Linked DNA regions of Homo sapiens: regions 1, 3 and 4 are each linked to region 2. The links are contacts of gene promoters, found by promoter capture Hi-C in blood cells and fetal thymus (Javierre and others, 2016). All regions are on one chromosome and are shown on one strand. The core of a region is centred on a gene start or on the middle of the fragment in contact, and the rest is flanking DNA. Distances in the headings are between cores, read along the strand shown.

Region 1 (2,700 bases), core at 167-2,666, 500 kb before region 2:
CTAACTCCATGACTGCAAATGTTTTGCATAGCAGTAAAGCTCTCTTTCTCTACCAAAATGGAGCAGAGGGAGGAACATTTGCATTTGACTTCTGCTGATAAAAATGAAACATTAAAATGCTATTTGGCAAGTAAGCAAAAGCCCAGAGGAGCAAAGCCTGATTCTTTTTTAGACATAGTTCTTTGCAGAGTCCCCTTAAGAGTGCTCAGTAGGGTGTGACCATATTGCTCCCTGTGGTCATCATATGGTTTGCTCACGCAGACGTTGAATTGTTTTGTGAATGTGAAATATTGTATGTTACCCCGAGAGCTGTGGAGCCAGCAGATCCAGGAGCTGTTGTTGAGACTGACAGTTACATTGTGTTACTGAATAGTGAAACGGCAGAATCAAAAACACAAATGGGCCCAGACAGAATGTCCTGACCTTTCAGAAAAAGGCTGATTGGATATGGTGTAAGCTTGCCTTCATTTCCCTCCACAATCCATTACACCTTTCTCAGACCACTTTCTCAGAGTAGGCGGCTCATAGATGAGCTTCTCTTAGATTCTTTATGTGAAAATATTTATGGGGAAAAAAAAACCTAGGAGCACTGCAGCAAATAGCCACCTTCCCCCATATAATTTATTCTTGATAGTTATTTTATATTAACACAGCCAAAAGACAACATTAATAACAGTGTTATCCTTGTTGATCTAAGCGTATTGGTATTAATACTAGTATTTAAATTAAAAAATGAAGACAGATGACCAGATATGGGAATGAATTTGTAAACAATGCTTACAAACAAATGCCATTTAAATGTCTTTAAACTCATAAATTACTGTTTGCAATTACTATTCACTATATTGCTAATTTCTTCAAGCAACCTATATATAAAATATGGAAAGCACAGAAAGGTAGAAGCAATCAGTGTCTCATTTCTCTTTATACATTTTTCTATTAAAGAAGATTTTCTATTAAAGGAGATTTTTTAATAAAGTAATGGTTTTCTTTATAATAAAATTCATTCATTGGTGAGTTTATAATTAAAATATAGCATATATTTTTGTAAGCTTACATTGATATAGCATGTATTTTCATAAGTTTATATTACGTTTCTTTCACTTTATTTGTGAGACTATTAAATATCATCATTTTAAAGATTGATGCTGTTCATGTATGAAGATATATGTGATATATTATTAAATCCAGTGTCCTACGTTGTCGGACACAAGCACCATTATGGTAAGTTAGAACAAGACTATAAAATAACAACTAAGATCATTAACATGACAAAAAATTATAGCTTAAACTACATATTCATTTCTGCTACATTAGAGCTGGATAGTGAAGTGAAATTTTGACTGCCAGGAAAACTTGAATTCCAATACTCAAATAAAATAGTCAAGATGCATGTTCGTGGTAAAAAATATATATATATTAAATATTTATAAAAGTATATTTGAATATTTATAAAAAATATATTTTAATAAAAATTTATAAATATGTATATAATATATATAGCTCCTCTTTATCCTTACTAAGATAGATTTCTCCTTCGATTTCATTTCTAATAATTTTTTCCCCAGAGAACAAACCTGTGGACACACAGAAGTCTTTTTAAAGAGTTCTGTCTGTCTTTCTCTCCCTCTCTTTCCTGTTTAGGATTTCTAGGCTGCCCTTCTGCTTGACAAAATCTCTTTCATAAGTTAATACATTTGACTTCAACAGCTTCTTATTCTATGAACATTTACTACCACTAGACTTGTGATAGGTGATTTAAAAATATTTATAAGCTTATATTGTATTTACTTGAATATTTCATTTGTCTCATGAGATAGAGGGACTTAACTTCCCGTCAGATTTTTAAACTCTGAACTTCTGCTCCAAAAGTCTGATGATTCTACTGGTATTTCTTGCATCTCTGTTACAGGAGAGGAAAGCATCTTCTGGCTCAATTAGCATGCTAAAGAATGGGTTTGGTTTCGTGCTCCATTAAAGTCAACTAAATAGATGCGCTGCATGTCTTTATTTCAAAAATAAAGCTGAACAATTAAATCCCGTGTCTCTTTGCTCAGTTTTTGATCCCACACAAAGCTTTCCCACTTGCTGCCTTTGGATGTAATGTTAACAAAGTCAGTTAACATCAAGCACTGCAGTAACAGGCATGGCAGAATTCCTTGTTTTTGCTCAATCAGTCTGTGTTCAAACTATCAGTTTGATTTATTTGTCCACATTGACCCTTATTCACCACTTAATTATCCTCGTATAATGTTTCAAGAGGCTCCTGACACAAGGAGAAAGACAATCGCCGATGTTCTGTAAAACAACGGTTGACCTGATGGGCCCAGATGAAGACCGTGGGTCGGAGTTTGTTTGCTTTTGGAAGAACCCACTTCTCCTGTCCGAGAGCTGCATCCAGAGCCACTCGCTGTGGGTGCCACAGGCTGGCCGGTCAAGCTGTTCGTCAGGTTCTCAAACTGTGAGCTGACCATCACCACGGGATAGTCATGGCGTTTTGCTCTATTGGCCTCTCCAAATCCCCCGGTATGTTGGGTGTATTAGAGTTCAGAAAAAAACAAAACCCATGCACCCACTAACACACAAACACACACACACACACACACACACACACACTGAACCTCAATTTCAGCAATGTCTTTATTAGTATATGGTTACTGCTGTGATTAGAAATACATTTTCTCACTTTGTGTATGAACA
Region 2 (2,777 bases), core at 278-2,777:
CTAAGAGCTAATAATGAAAATAAATCAAGTATTTCTCTGAGTTTTAGAAGTAACATTTTTTTCTGCTGTAGGACAAAACAAAAAAATACAATAGACCACTGACATTATGAAATGAGTTTTTGCATCTCGCTTCAGTGCGTATAATAGCTAGGACATGAATTAAGGCAAAAGCGAGAATGAACCTACGCCTTTTCATCTAGTCCACGGACTAGATGGACTCTTTTTTTTGAGACGGAGTTTTGCTCTTCTTGCCCAGGCTGGAGTGCAATGGCACGATCTCGGCTCACCGCAACCTCTGCCTCCTGGGTTCAAACTATTCTCTTACCTCAGCCTCCCGAGTAGCTGGGATTACAGGCATGCGCCACCACGCCCGGCTAATTTTGTATTTTCAGTAGAGATGGGGTTTCTCCATGTTGGTCAGGCTGGTCTGGAACTCCCGAACTCAAGTGATCCGCCCACCTCGGCCTCCCAAAGTGCTGGGATTACAGACGTGAGCCACCGCACGGCGCTTGGCCTTTTTTCTTTTTAAGACGGGGTCTCAGTCTGTCACCCAGGCTGGAGTGGAGTGATGTGATCTCAGCTCACTGGGCTGGGGCAGAGTGATGTGATCTCAGCTCATTGTAGCCTCAACATCCCGGGCTCAAGCGATCCTCCCGCCTCAGCCTCCTGAGCAGCTTTAACCACAGGCTGAGCCAATGCGCGCGACGGGAGACAATTAACTGGAGTCTGTAACACCTACTTGCGAATGTGTGCATTCCTCGTTAGACAACTACAGGTAAGAACTGAACTTGATATATTTCATGGTGTCACCCGTGGGACTCCAGGCGTCCATTCAGGAGCATCGTCCTTAGGAAGGCCAGCCCGCAGGTCGCAGCTCAGTGCTCGAATGCAGACTGGGAATTGTGGGCCAACTCGCGAGCCCTGGGTCGGTTCTGGCTCAGACCGTCTTCCCCGTACTGCTGTGCCGAGCGGACCGATCCAAGGGACCGCGCAGGCTCCCCCGGCTCTCCCTACGGGGACGTGTGCCTGGGCGTGTGACACGTGGCGGAGGCAGCGCGGTCTCAAGGAACAAGGACACGGGCTACTAGGCTACACGTATATGCACTTGCACACAACTGGAAGATCGACTCCTGCTTCAGACCAACTCCTCGCACTCGGCAAAGAAAGGAGAAGCGCCGACCAGCGCCTCTTCTGCCCCCTGGCGTGGACCCGCGGAACCGTCTACGCTCAGAGGGGCTTTCCCTCGAGCGCGAGGAACTGGAGCCCGGCTGGCCCCCGCCTCCGCCTCCGCCCCCCGGCCCCAGCTGCGCGGCGCCGCCTCACCCGCGATGCCGTAGTGCTGCGCGGTGGCGCAGGCCAGGCGGCCCGGCAGGTACGGGGAGAACTCGGCGGCGTAGCCGTGGCGTCCCGGCGTCCGCAGCATCCGCGCCGCTCCACCGCACACCGCACTCATCCCGCCCGCCGCCCCCGGCCCTCGCTGCCCCGGCCGCGGAAGCCGTTCCGAGTCGGAGGCACACTGGCGCGGTTAGAGAGACCAGGCAGACCGGACGGAAGTGTGGGCCCCGTGCCCTGTGTTTGAGATTCTGATTGGTCCGCACAGGAAAGGGCGTTGACTCCGACGGAGACCATTTTTGTTTTGGGTGAATCCAAACTGAATTGCGCCTGCTGCAAAGATACAGATCTATCAGGGGAGTGATCCAGGGTTAGGTATTATTAATAATTACGACAGCTTTTGTCGTTGCATCTCAGCCTCCTCTGCGGTGCTATCTGGTTTTTATTTCATTGAGCGTTTGGAAGACTGGCATCAGGAACTTTTCCTGATGATTATAAAGTGAGAAAAGTTACAGCCGACTCTGAAACCACGCAGCGCGTCCAAAATTGCGTGCTGCGTTGCCCAAGGAAACTGGAAGCAATGAGAACTTAAGTCCGTGGAGTCACTGCGGTCTTTAGGAATAAGAGCGTGGGCTGGTGGGCTACTTTCACACTGTAACTGGAAAAGATGAAACACCAACTCCAAACCAACTCCCCATGCTTGGCAAGTGAGAAAAAGGAGCTGGCCAGTTCTAATGAAGCTAAGCAAAAAAGCAGCACATCATCATATACAACTTTTTTAAAAAGTATTACTATACATGTATATATTGTATGGTAATAAGTGCTCAGATGCTGGTGCTCATTCATTCATTTATTGCCAGGCATATACTATGTGGAGAATGACCAAATATAATTTATCTGCCAAACCAAGATACTTTTGAGAGTAAAGAGGGTGTAATTATTAAGCCAGGTCAACAGGCACAAACCAAGTCGTATGATCATCTTAACCATATACCAAGAACAGTACTAGGCATTTGGGATTCAAAATAATGGGATATGGTCCATGGCCTCAAGAGATTAGAGAAGAAGACTAAAAGAGAAGTCATGTAATTAGTTAAGTGTAATCAAAATACTGTAGAGGCTATGATAAATTTATATGGGGTATTTTTAAAAGGTGATTGTCCGTGCCAGAGGTATGGAAATTGCAGGAAAGGCTGCAGAAGAGAGATAAGTCTTTATGGTGATTGCACACAGATGAGTAGGTTTTCTTTAGGTAGACAAGAAGATGGAGATCTTTGTAGGAGCAGGAATAACATGAGCAACCCAGGAGATTTAAACCAGCATGATCCATAGGGGGTCGTGGCTGCCAGGACTCAGCCTGGCCAGATGGAAGGGATACGGTGAAAAAAATATTGGGTGGGGAGACTGTAGAGTGTTTTACTGGGGCTAGATCATGAAGAGTCTTA
Region 3 (2,998 bases), core at 387-2,886, 440 kb before region 2:
GCCAAGAGGCCCCCCAGGTTTGATCCATCTTTGCACCTGCCTGCCTGCCATTTGACCTTCTGCACCATGTTTTGATGGAGCACAAAAGTCCTCACCAGAAGCAGAGCAGATGCCAGCACCATGCTTCTTGCACAGGCTGCAGAACATGAACTAACTCAACCTCTTTCCTTACAAACCACCCAGCCACAGGTACGCCTTTATAGCAACACAAAACAGACTAAGCCAGCAGGAATATGGGGTTTTATCACACTCCTCTCTCCATTTGTGTGTATTTGAAATAAAGAGTTTTTAAGGAAAATGTAAAATTGTATGTGAGGTTAAAAAAGAACTGCTGCTCCTATGATGACGAATTTTGGGTTAATTCACCTGCTGTGAAGAGATGAAAAAAGAAAAAACGAAGACTTCACTTTGCTTCTCCTCTATATTTTTAGCAGTCTTTGGAGATTATTCTTACTGGGGAAGAAATTGCACTGAGTCAAAGGCATTTCCTTCTCAAGTGCTAATACGTTACCACACATTACCTCTTACACAGTTCCCTCCTCAAAGAAACATAAACATAGCATAACAGAAGAGAACAGCCTTTTGCGCCATTTTTCAGACACTGGCTCTCCTTGTCCCCTGAGGTTTTCTTCTTTCTGAGTGCACATTCCAGATGGCTGTGCTTTGAAATCCCACACCTGCTCCAACCCTGATCCTCTCCTAGAAACTCCTCTGAGGAGGCATCTCTGGTCTCCCAACCAGGGTGACCAACTCTCTTCTCTGTCCCTTCGTTTCCTTGCATACCCTCCCCGCAGCACTTAACATGTGATATGAAACGCATTTGTGTCTCTTCCCTGGACCATAAGCTCCCTTAGGGCAGGGACTCAGCCTTTTAAACATTTCTTTCCAGTGTCTAATATCTTCTGGCAAATAGCAGACTCTCAGTAGCTGCCAAATACATGCATGCTCTGGTACTATCTCCTGTAAGCCTCGGTAATCTTAACAAGGTTTCCACTATGAAAAATCTCTGTTCTTAATTTCCTTTATTAAGTATTAAGTTTTGGATGTTTCTGTCTAGCAAAAAGCCTGTACTCTGAACCAATAATTTAATCATCTACCAGTTTTGTTGATTAGAAGATAATACTTGTCTCTCAGGGTTTCTAAGGCGCCGCACCCAGCCAAGAGTTTTTATTCCTTGGCATGTGTCCAGGAAATTTCTAGTTAAGAATAGGCTTATGATAATCCGGTCTAAGATCTAGAAGATTTACAAGTCATAGGAGTTTTAATTTATGGGATTCTGGAAAGTGAACTAGTTGCATAATTTGTATATATATCCATTTTCCTGAACTATTTTTAAAAACATCTTTCTTGACATGTGTCACATACCATAAAATTCAATCATTTAACATATACAATTCAATGTTTTAAAATATATTAATATATTTGTGCAAACATCTCTATAACTTTAGAGCATTTTCATCACCAGCCCTCCTCCAAACACCCTGCTGCCATCACTGCCCATTCTCTCTCCCCTCTTTGGCCCTAGGTGCCCACTAATGTACTTTTTGTCTCTGTAGATTTGCCTACTCTAGACATTTCTCATAAATAAAATCATACAATATGTGATCTTTTATGACTTGCTTTTTTTATTTAGTATTTACAAGGATCATCCATGATGTAGCCTGTGTCAGTACTCCATTCTTTCTTCTGTTGCCAAATCCTATTTCATTGTATAGATATACCTCATTTTGTTGATCCATTCATCAGATGATGAACATTTGGGTTGTTTCCAATATTTGGCCATTATATATGATGCTGCCATGAAAATGGCAAATTAAATTTTTGTGTGGACTTAAATTTCCATCTCTCTTGGACATATATAGCTAAGAGTAGAATTGCTGGGTCCTGTGGTACCACCATGTTTAACTTTATGAGGAGCTGTCAAGCTGCTTTCCACGGTGGTTGCATCATTTTACATACCCACCAACAATATATGAGGGTTCCAATTTCTCCACATCCTCACCACTTACTATCATTCCTTTTTTAATTACTGTAGCTATCCTAGTGAATGTGGTTTTGATTTGCATTTGCCTAATGTCAAACAGATGTTGAGCATCTTTCCACGTGCTCATTGGCCATTTATATAACTTATTTGGAGAAATGTCTATTCAAATACTTTGCCCTTTTAAAATTGTGTTGTCTTTTCATTGTTAAATTATAAAAGTTCTTTATATATTGTGAATTAAGGCTCTTATCCGATATGTGATTGTCATAGTTAAGAAATCATTGATTAGCCCAAGGTCACAAAGATTTAATCTTGTCTTAGTCTGTTTTCTGCTGCTATAACGGAGTATCACAGACTTGATAATTTATACACAAAAGATTATTTGGCTCACAGTTTTGGAGGCTGGGAAGTCCAAAGGCATGGTGCCAGCATCTGCTTAGCCATCTGGTGAGGGCTTTCTTGTTGCATCACACCATGGCTGAAAGCAGAAAGGCAGGTGACAAATGAGACAGGGAGAAAATGGAGGTCAAACTTATGCTGGAGTCCTCTCCCTCAATAACTAATCCACTACCCTGATAACAGCATTAATCCGTTCACAAGGGCAGAACCCTCATGATCTACACCTCTTAAAGGTCTTACCTCCTAGTACTACCCCAATGGCAATTAAATTTGACCATGAGTTTTGGTGGGACATTCAAACCATAGCAAATCCCATGTTTTCTTTTAAGAGTTTTGTAATTTTAGCTCTTTCATTTCAGTTGTCAGGGAAGCTACAGATTACCTGTCCCTGTGTAAGTTCTCAGTTGAGACAAGCCCCTGTAACAAAAGCAGATCAACAAGAAAAAAACAAACAAGTTTATTAACACATACAGTGAACACCATGCAGGAAAAACCTCAATGAAAAGTAACTCAAAGCAGTTGCTTAGAACTCTGGCTTGTATCGCATCTTCAACAAAGAACAATAAATTTATAGAGAAATGACAGGACAAAGGAAGGCAATTTCCTTTCGGGGTA
Region 4 (2,970 bases), core at 152-2,651, 470 kb before region 2:
TTTAATTGAGGTATTTCAACAATATACAAGATTATGAGGCATTCTATTATAAACAGAATAATGCTTTATTTAGTTATTCTATTGATAAGCATTATGCAAAGACATGAGTTTGGGTCTAGGAAATGTATGCACACAAAACAGGGAATATCTTTATTTCTGCTTCTGGTGGGCTACACAGTCATAAAGAGTTGAGAGACAACTGAGAGACTATGTAAACTGAACTCATTTTACCCACCAGTAAACTGTCAGCAATAGAATTTACACTAGAACCCAAGTCTTCTGATATTTACTCTCAAGTACATTCCACTAAAACCACCCTGGGAAGCTCCTGGGAGAGGAGGACCTTCTCTTCTTATTTATTTTTTCGGGAATGGAAGGACAGAGATAATGATGGGAAACTCATCTCATCCCACGGCCTCATAGGTAGTTACTTTTGCTTAGTCAGGAAGTTCACTCCTCCCAGATGGCCAGCTCAGGACCACCCTCCAGCCTGTCCTGGGATCCTGCCCTGCCTGATGCCCTTCCCTCTCTCTCCCAGTCTCACAGCCCTTTCTCCGTGGGTCAGCGATGGCTGCTTCAGGCGGGCTGGTTCCCTACCCTTCACTCTATTTTCTCCTCCATAGTTTCTAGTATTAACTGGGTAAGAGAAGCAAGCGTGCAAGCATGAAGACCCAAGGAGAATAGGATTTTCATCTGCTTAGTTCACTGCTGAGCAATGTTTGGCACACAGTAGGCCTTCGGTGTTTTCTGAATGAATGGAAATATTTTTTCTTTCCACCATTCAGTTAAATATTTCCATCCAGTGGAAATGTCTTCATGACTTCAGTCACTTCATCCAGGCTCTGGGGAACCAGGCCACCCCGTTACCACCCTCACCGGTATTAGCAGTCTTCGTGGGGAAGACAGATTAACACAGGCACTTTCAATTCCTTTCTTGGAACTCCATTTGGACACGCAGCTCTCCCTTTTTCCTAGTCATTCTGTTAATATTAATTTTGTAAACCCTCCAGATAAGGAACAATAACTTCAGTAAGCTCTTGCCCACGTCAAAGATTATATTACAAAGATGGACTACAGAGAGCAAAACACAGTTGGCAAGACCAAAAGCTCATGAAGATGAAGGATAAATTACCCAAGGGAATAACGGGTATATAAATACTTAACACATATATATTATACTAAGATATATTATACTATTATACTTAGTATATATATTACATATACTAATTATATATAATATATACTAAGTGTAACTTCTAAAATGTAAATGTATTATATTATAAAATATTGATTATTAAAATTTAAATTTTATAAAAACCTTTTTAAAAGTCTGTCTCTTTCAACAAAATGCCTAGACAACATCTGCTTCTAACACTAACCTACTCTGATAGGTAATTCTCTTCAATCGTGTTCTTCAACTGTGCAAAAAATAGTATTGCATTTTCTTAATATTCTAAGGAAAATACTCCTACCTCTTTTATTTCATGCTGTACTTCTTTTACATGTTTTTCTTGTCATCTCTTTTTATCTAGAAATTGAATGCCTGTTTCAATTTCATACTCCTTGGTTTCATTCCCACAAGTCTCTAAAAGTTAATTGGGTGGGTATTAAGACCTCTCACAAATTATCATAGTACTTAAAAGCAAAAATTTTAAGACAGAGCTACCAGATGTTGAAAAGGAATGTAAATAATCTACCATCTCTACACCTTCAAAGATATATAGGAGTCGCAACCAGTGTGGTTATCATTGTGGAAATACATCAAACCTGTTCATACTAGTTTTTATCTAGTTATGCAGAACATTTTTATCAAGTATCTACTGTACACCAGACCCTGTTCTGTATGCTACGATAGAGTGAATAGAATCCATGTCCTCATGAATTTTTCTCAGTTTTCCTATTGTGTGTATATGTGTTTGGGGTGGGGATGGAGAAGACTTGCCTGAAGGTTTGGAGAAATGTCATAGAAACTCAGTTTGAAATTGAATATTACAACCTCTTGTCTTTCAAAAAACAGCTCCTTGGCCATTTCCATCTTGTAGCTCCCTATATCAGTATTAAATGGGTTTATTATTATAGCTTTATGAAAAATCTTGATAATTCCCACCACTTTACTTTTATCTGAAAAACAATCTTGGCTATATTTTCAGTCTTTACTCTTTCATATAAACTTTTGAGATCAACTTATCAAAATTCATGAAAAACCCTGCGGGAATTTTGGTTAGAACTAGGTGCTCTTGTTTTTAATTCCAGGAAGAACATTTTGATATTAATTAATTTTGGAGGTAAGGTTATTGTTCATAAACATTCACACACCTACCTTCTTAGATGGGATGTGTTTGCCCATCACTTGTTTTGGAGCTGGACAGGTGGTTTGCTTTGGCCAATGGCATGAGGACTGAAATAATGAGATCAAATGCTTGAAAGATATCTCCATGATTGGGCTTATATTCTTGTACCTTAATCATCACTGAGAGAAGACAAATTAAGACTAGTCTGCTGGTCCAGGGAGAATAATGCAGAGCTGCCCAGCTGAGTCCACCCCAGATTGGTCAACCCCTATGCAACCTGCAAATGCTTGAGCAAGTTCAACTAAAATCAGTAGAATTGTCCAGCTGACCCATAGATATGTAATAAATAATTGCTTACTGTTGTATTCAACTAGATGTTAGGGATTTTTGTTACAAAGCAGTAGCTTCCTCTTACATTGCCCTAAAATTAAAACTGAGTTTTATAAATATTTGTAACAAATACAAGTTGTTTTATCTGCCCAGAAGAGCATCCTACTTTTCTTCTGCCCATTCTGATCATGTAGTTGTGGTAGGACATCTAATCTCAAACTCTAGACCCCTGACAACAGGTATTGGCACGTGACCAGGCTGAGTCCATAATGCTGTCTACTTCACATGACCACAGAGATTTGTCCAGGGTCAGGTGGATGACCTAAGTGAGGCCCATCATAACCCTTCC

The links. The method cuts DNA at HindIII sites, captures the fragments that hold promoters and counts their contacts. A CHiCAGO score of 5 or more calls a contact.
Region 1: a contact is called between a fragment that was not itself captured here and the fragment with the promoter of PEX7 in region 2, in 1 of 17 cell types (neutrophils). The highest score is 6.3, in neutrophils.
Region 3: a fragment that was not itself captured here is called in contact with the fragment with the promoter of PEX7 in region 2 in 1 of 17 cell types (neutrophils); the score reaches 7.1 in neutrophils.
Region 4: a fragment that was not itself captured here is called in contact with the fragment with the promoter of PEX7 in region 2 in 1 of 17 cell types (neutrophils); the score reaches 7.9 in neutrophils.

What each region holds. Positions count from the first base shown.
Region 1 is chr6:137,319,960-137,322,659 of GRCh38, reverse strand. No RefSeq gene overlaps it. Among named protein-coding and RNA genes, the nearest start is that of IFNGR1, 100 kb to the right of the region's middle. The HindIII fragment of the contact is 723 bases long and covers 1,055-1,777 here.
Region 2 is chr6:136,821,342-136,824,118 of GRCh38, reverse strand. It overlaps PEX7 (peroxisomal biogenesis factor 7), which reads right to left and starts at 1,527. Exons shown (of 10, transcript NM_000288.4): 1 at 1,324-1,527. The coding sequence starts at 1,453. RefSeq lists enhancers at 917-1,076, 458-1,190, 1,191-1,923, 1,807-1,956 and a silencer at 1,247-1,626. The HindIII fragment of the contact is 4,798 bases long and covers 1-2,777 here.
Region 3 is chr6:137,263,924-137,266,921 of GRCh38, reverse strand. No RefSeq gene overlaps it. Among named protein-coding and RNA genes, the nearest start is that of IFNGR1, 46 kb to the right of the region's middle. The HindIII fragment of the contact is 6,399 bases long and covers 1-2,998 here.
Region 4 is chr6:137,287,364-137,290,333 of GRCh38, reverse strand. No RefSeq gene overlaps it. Among named protein-coding and RNA genes, the nearest start is that of IFNGR1, 69 kb to the right of the region's middle. The HindIII fragment of the contact is 8,336 bases long and covers 1-2,970 here.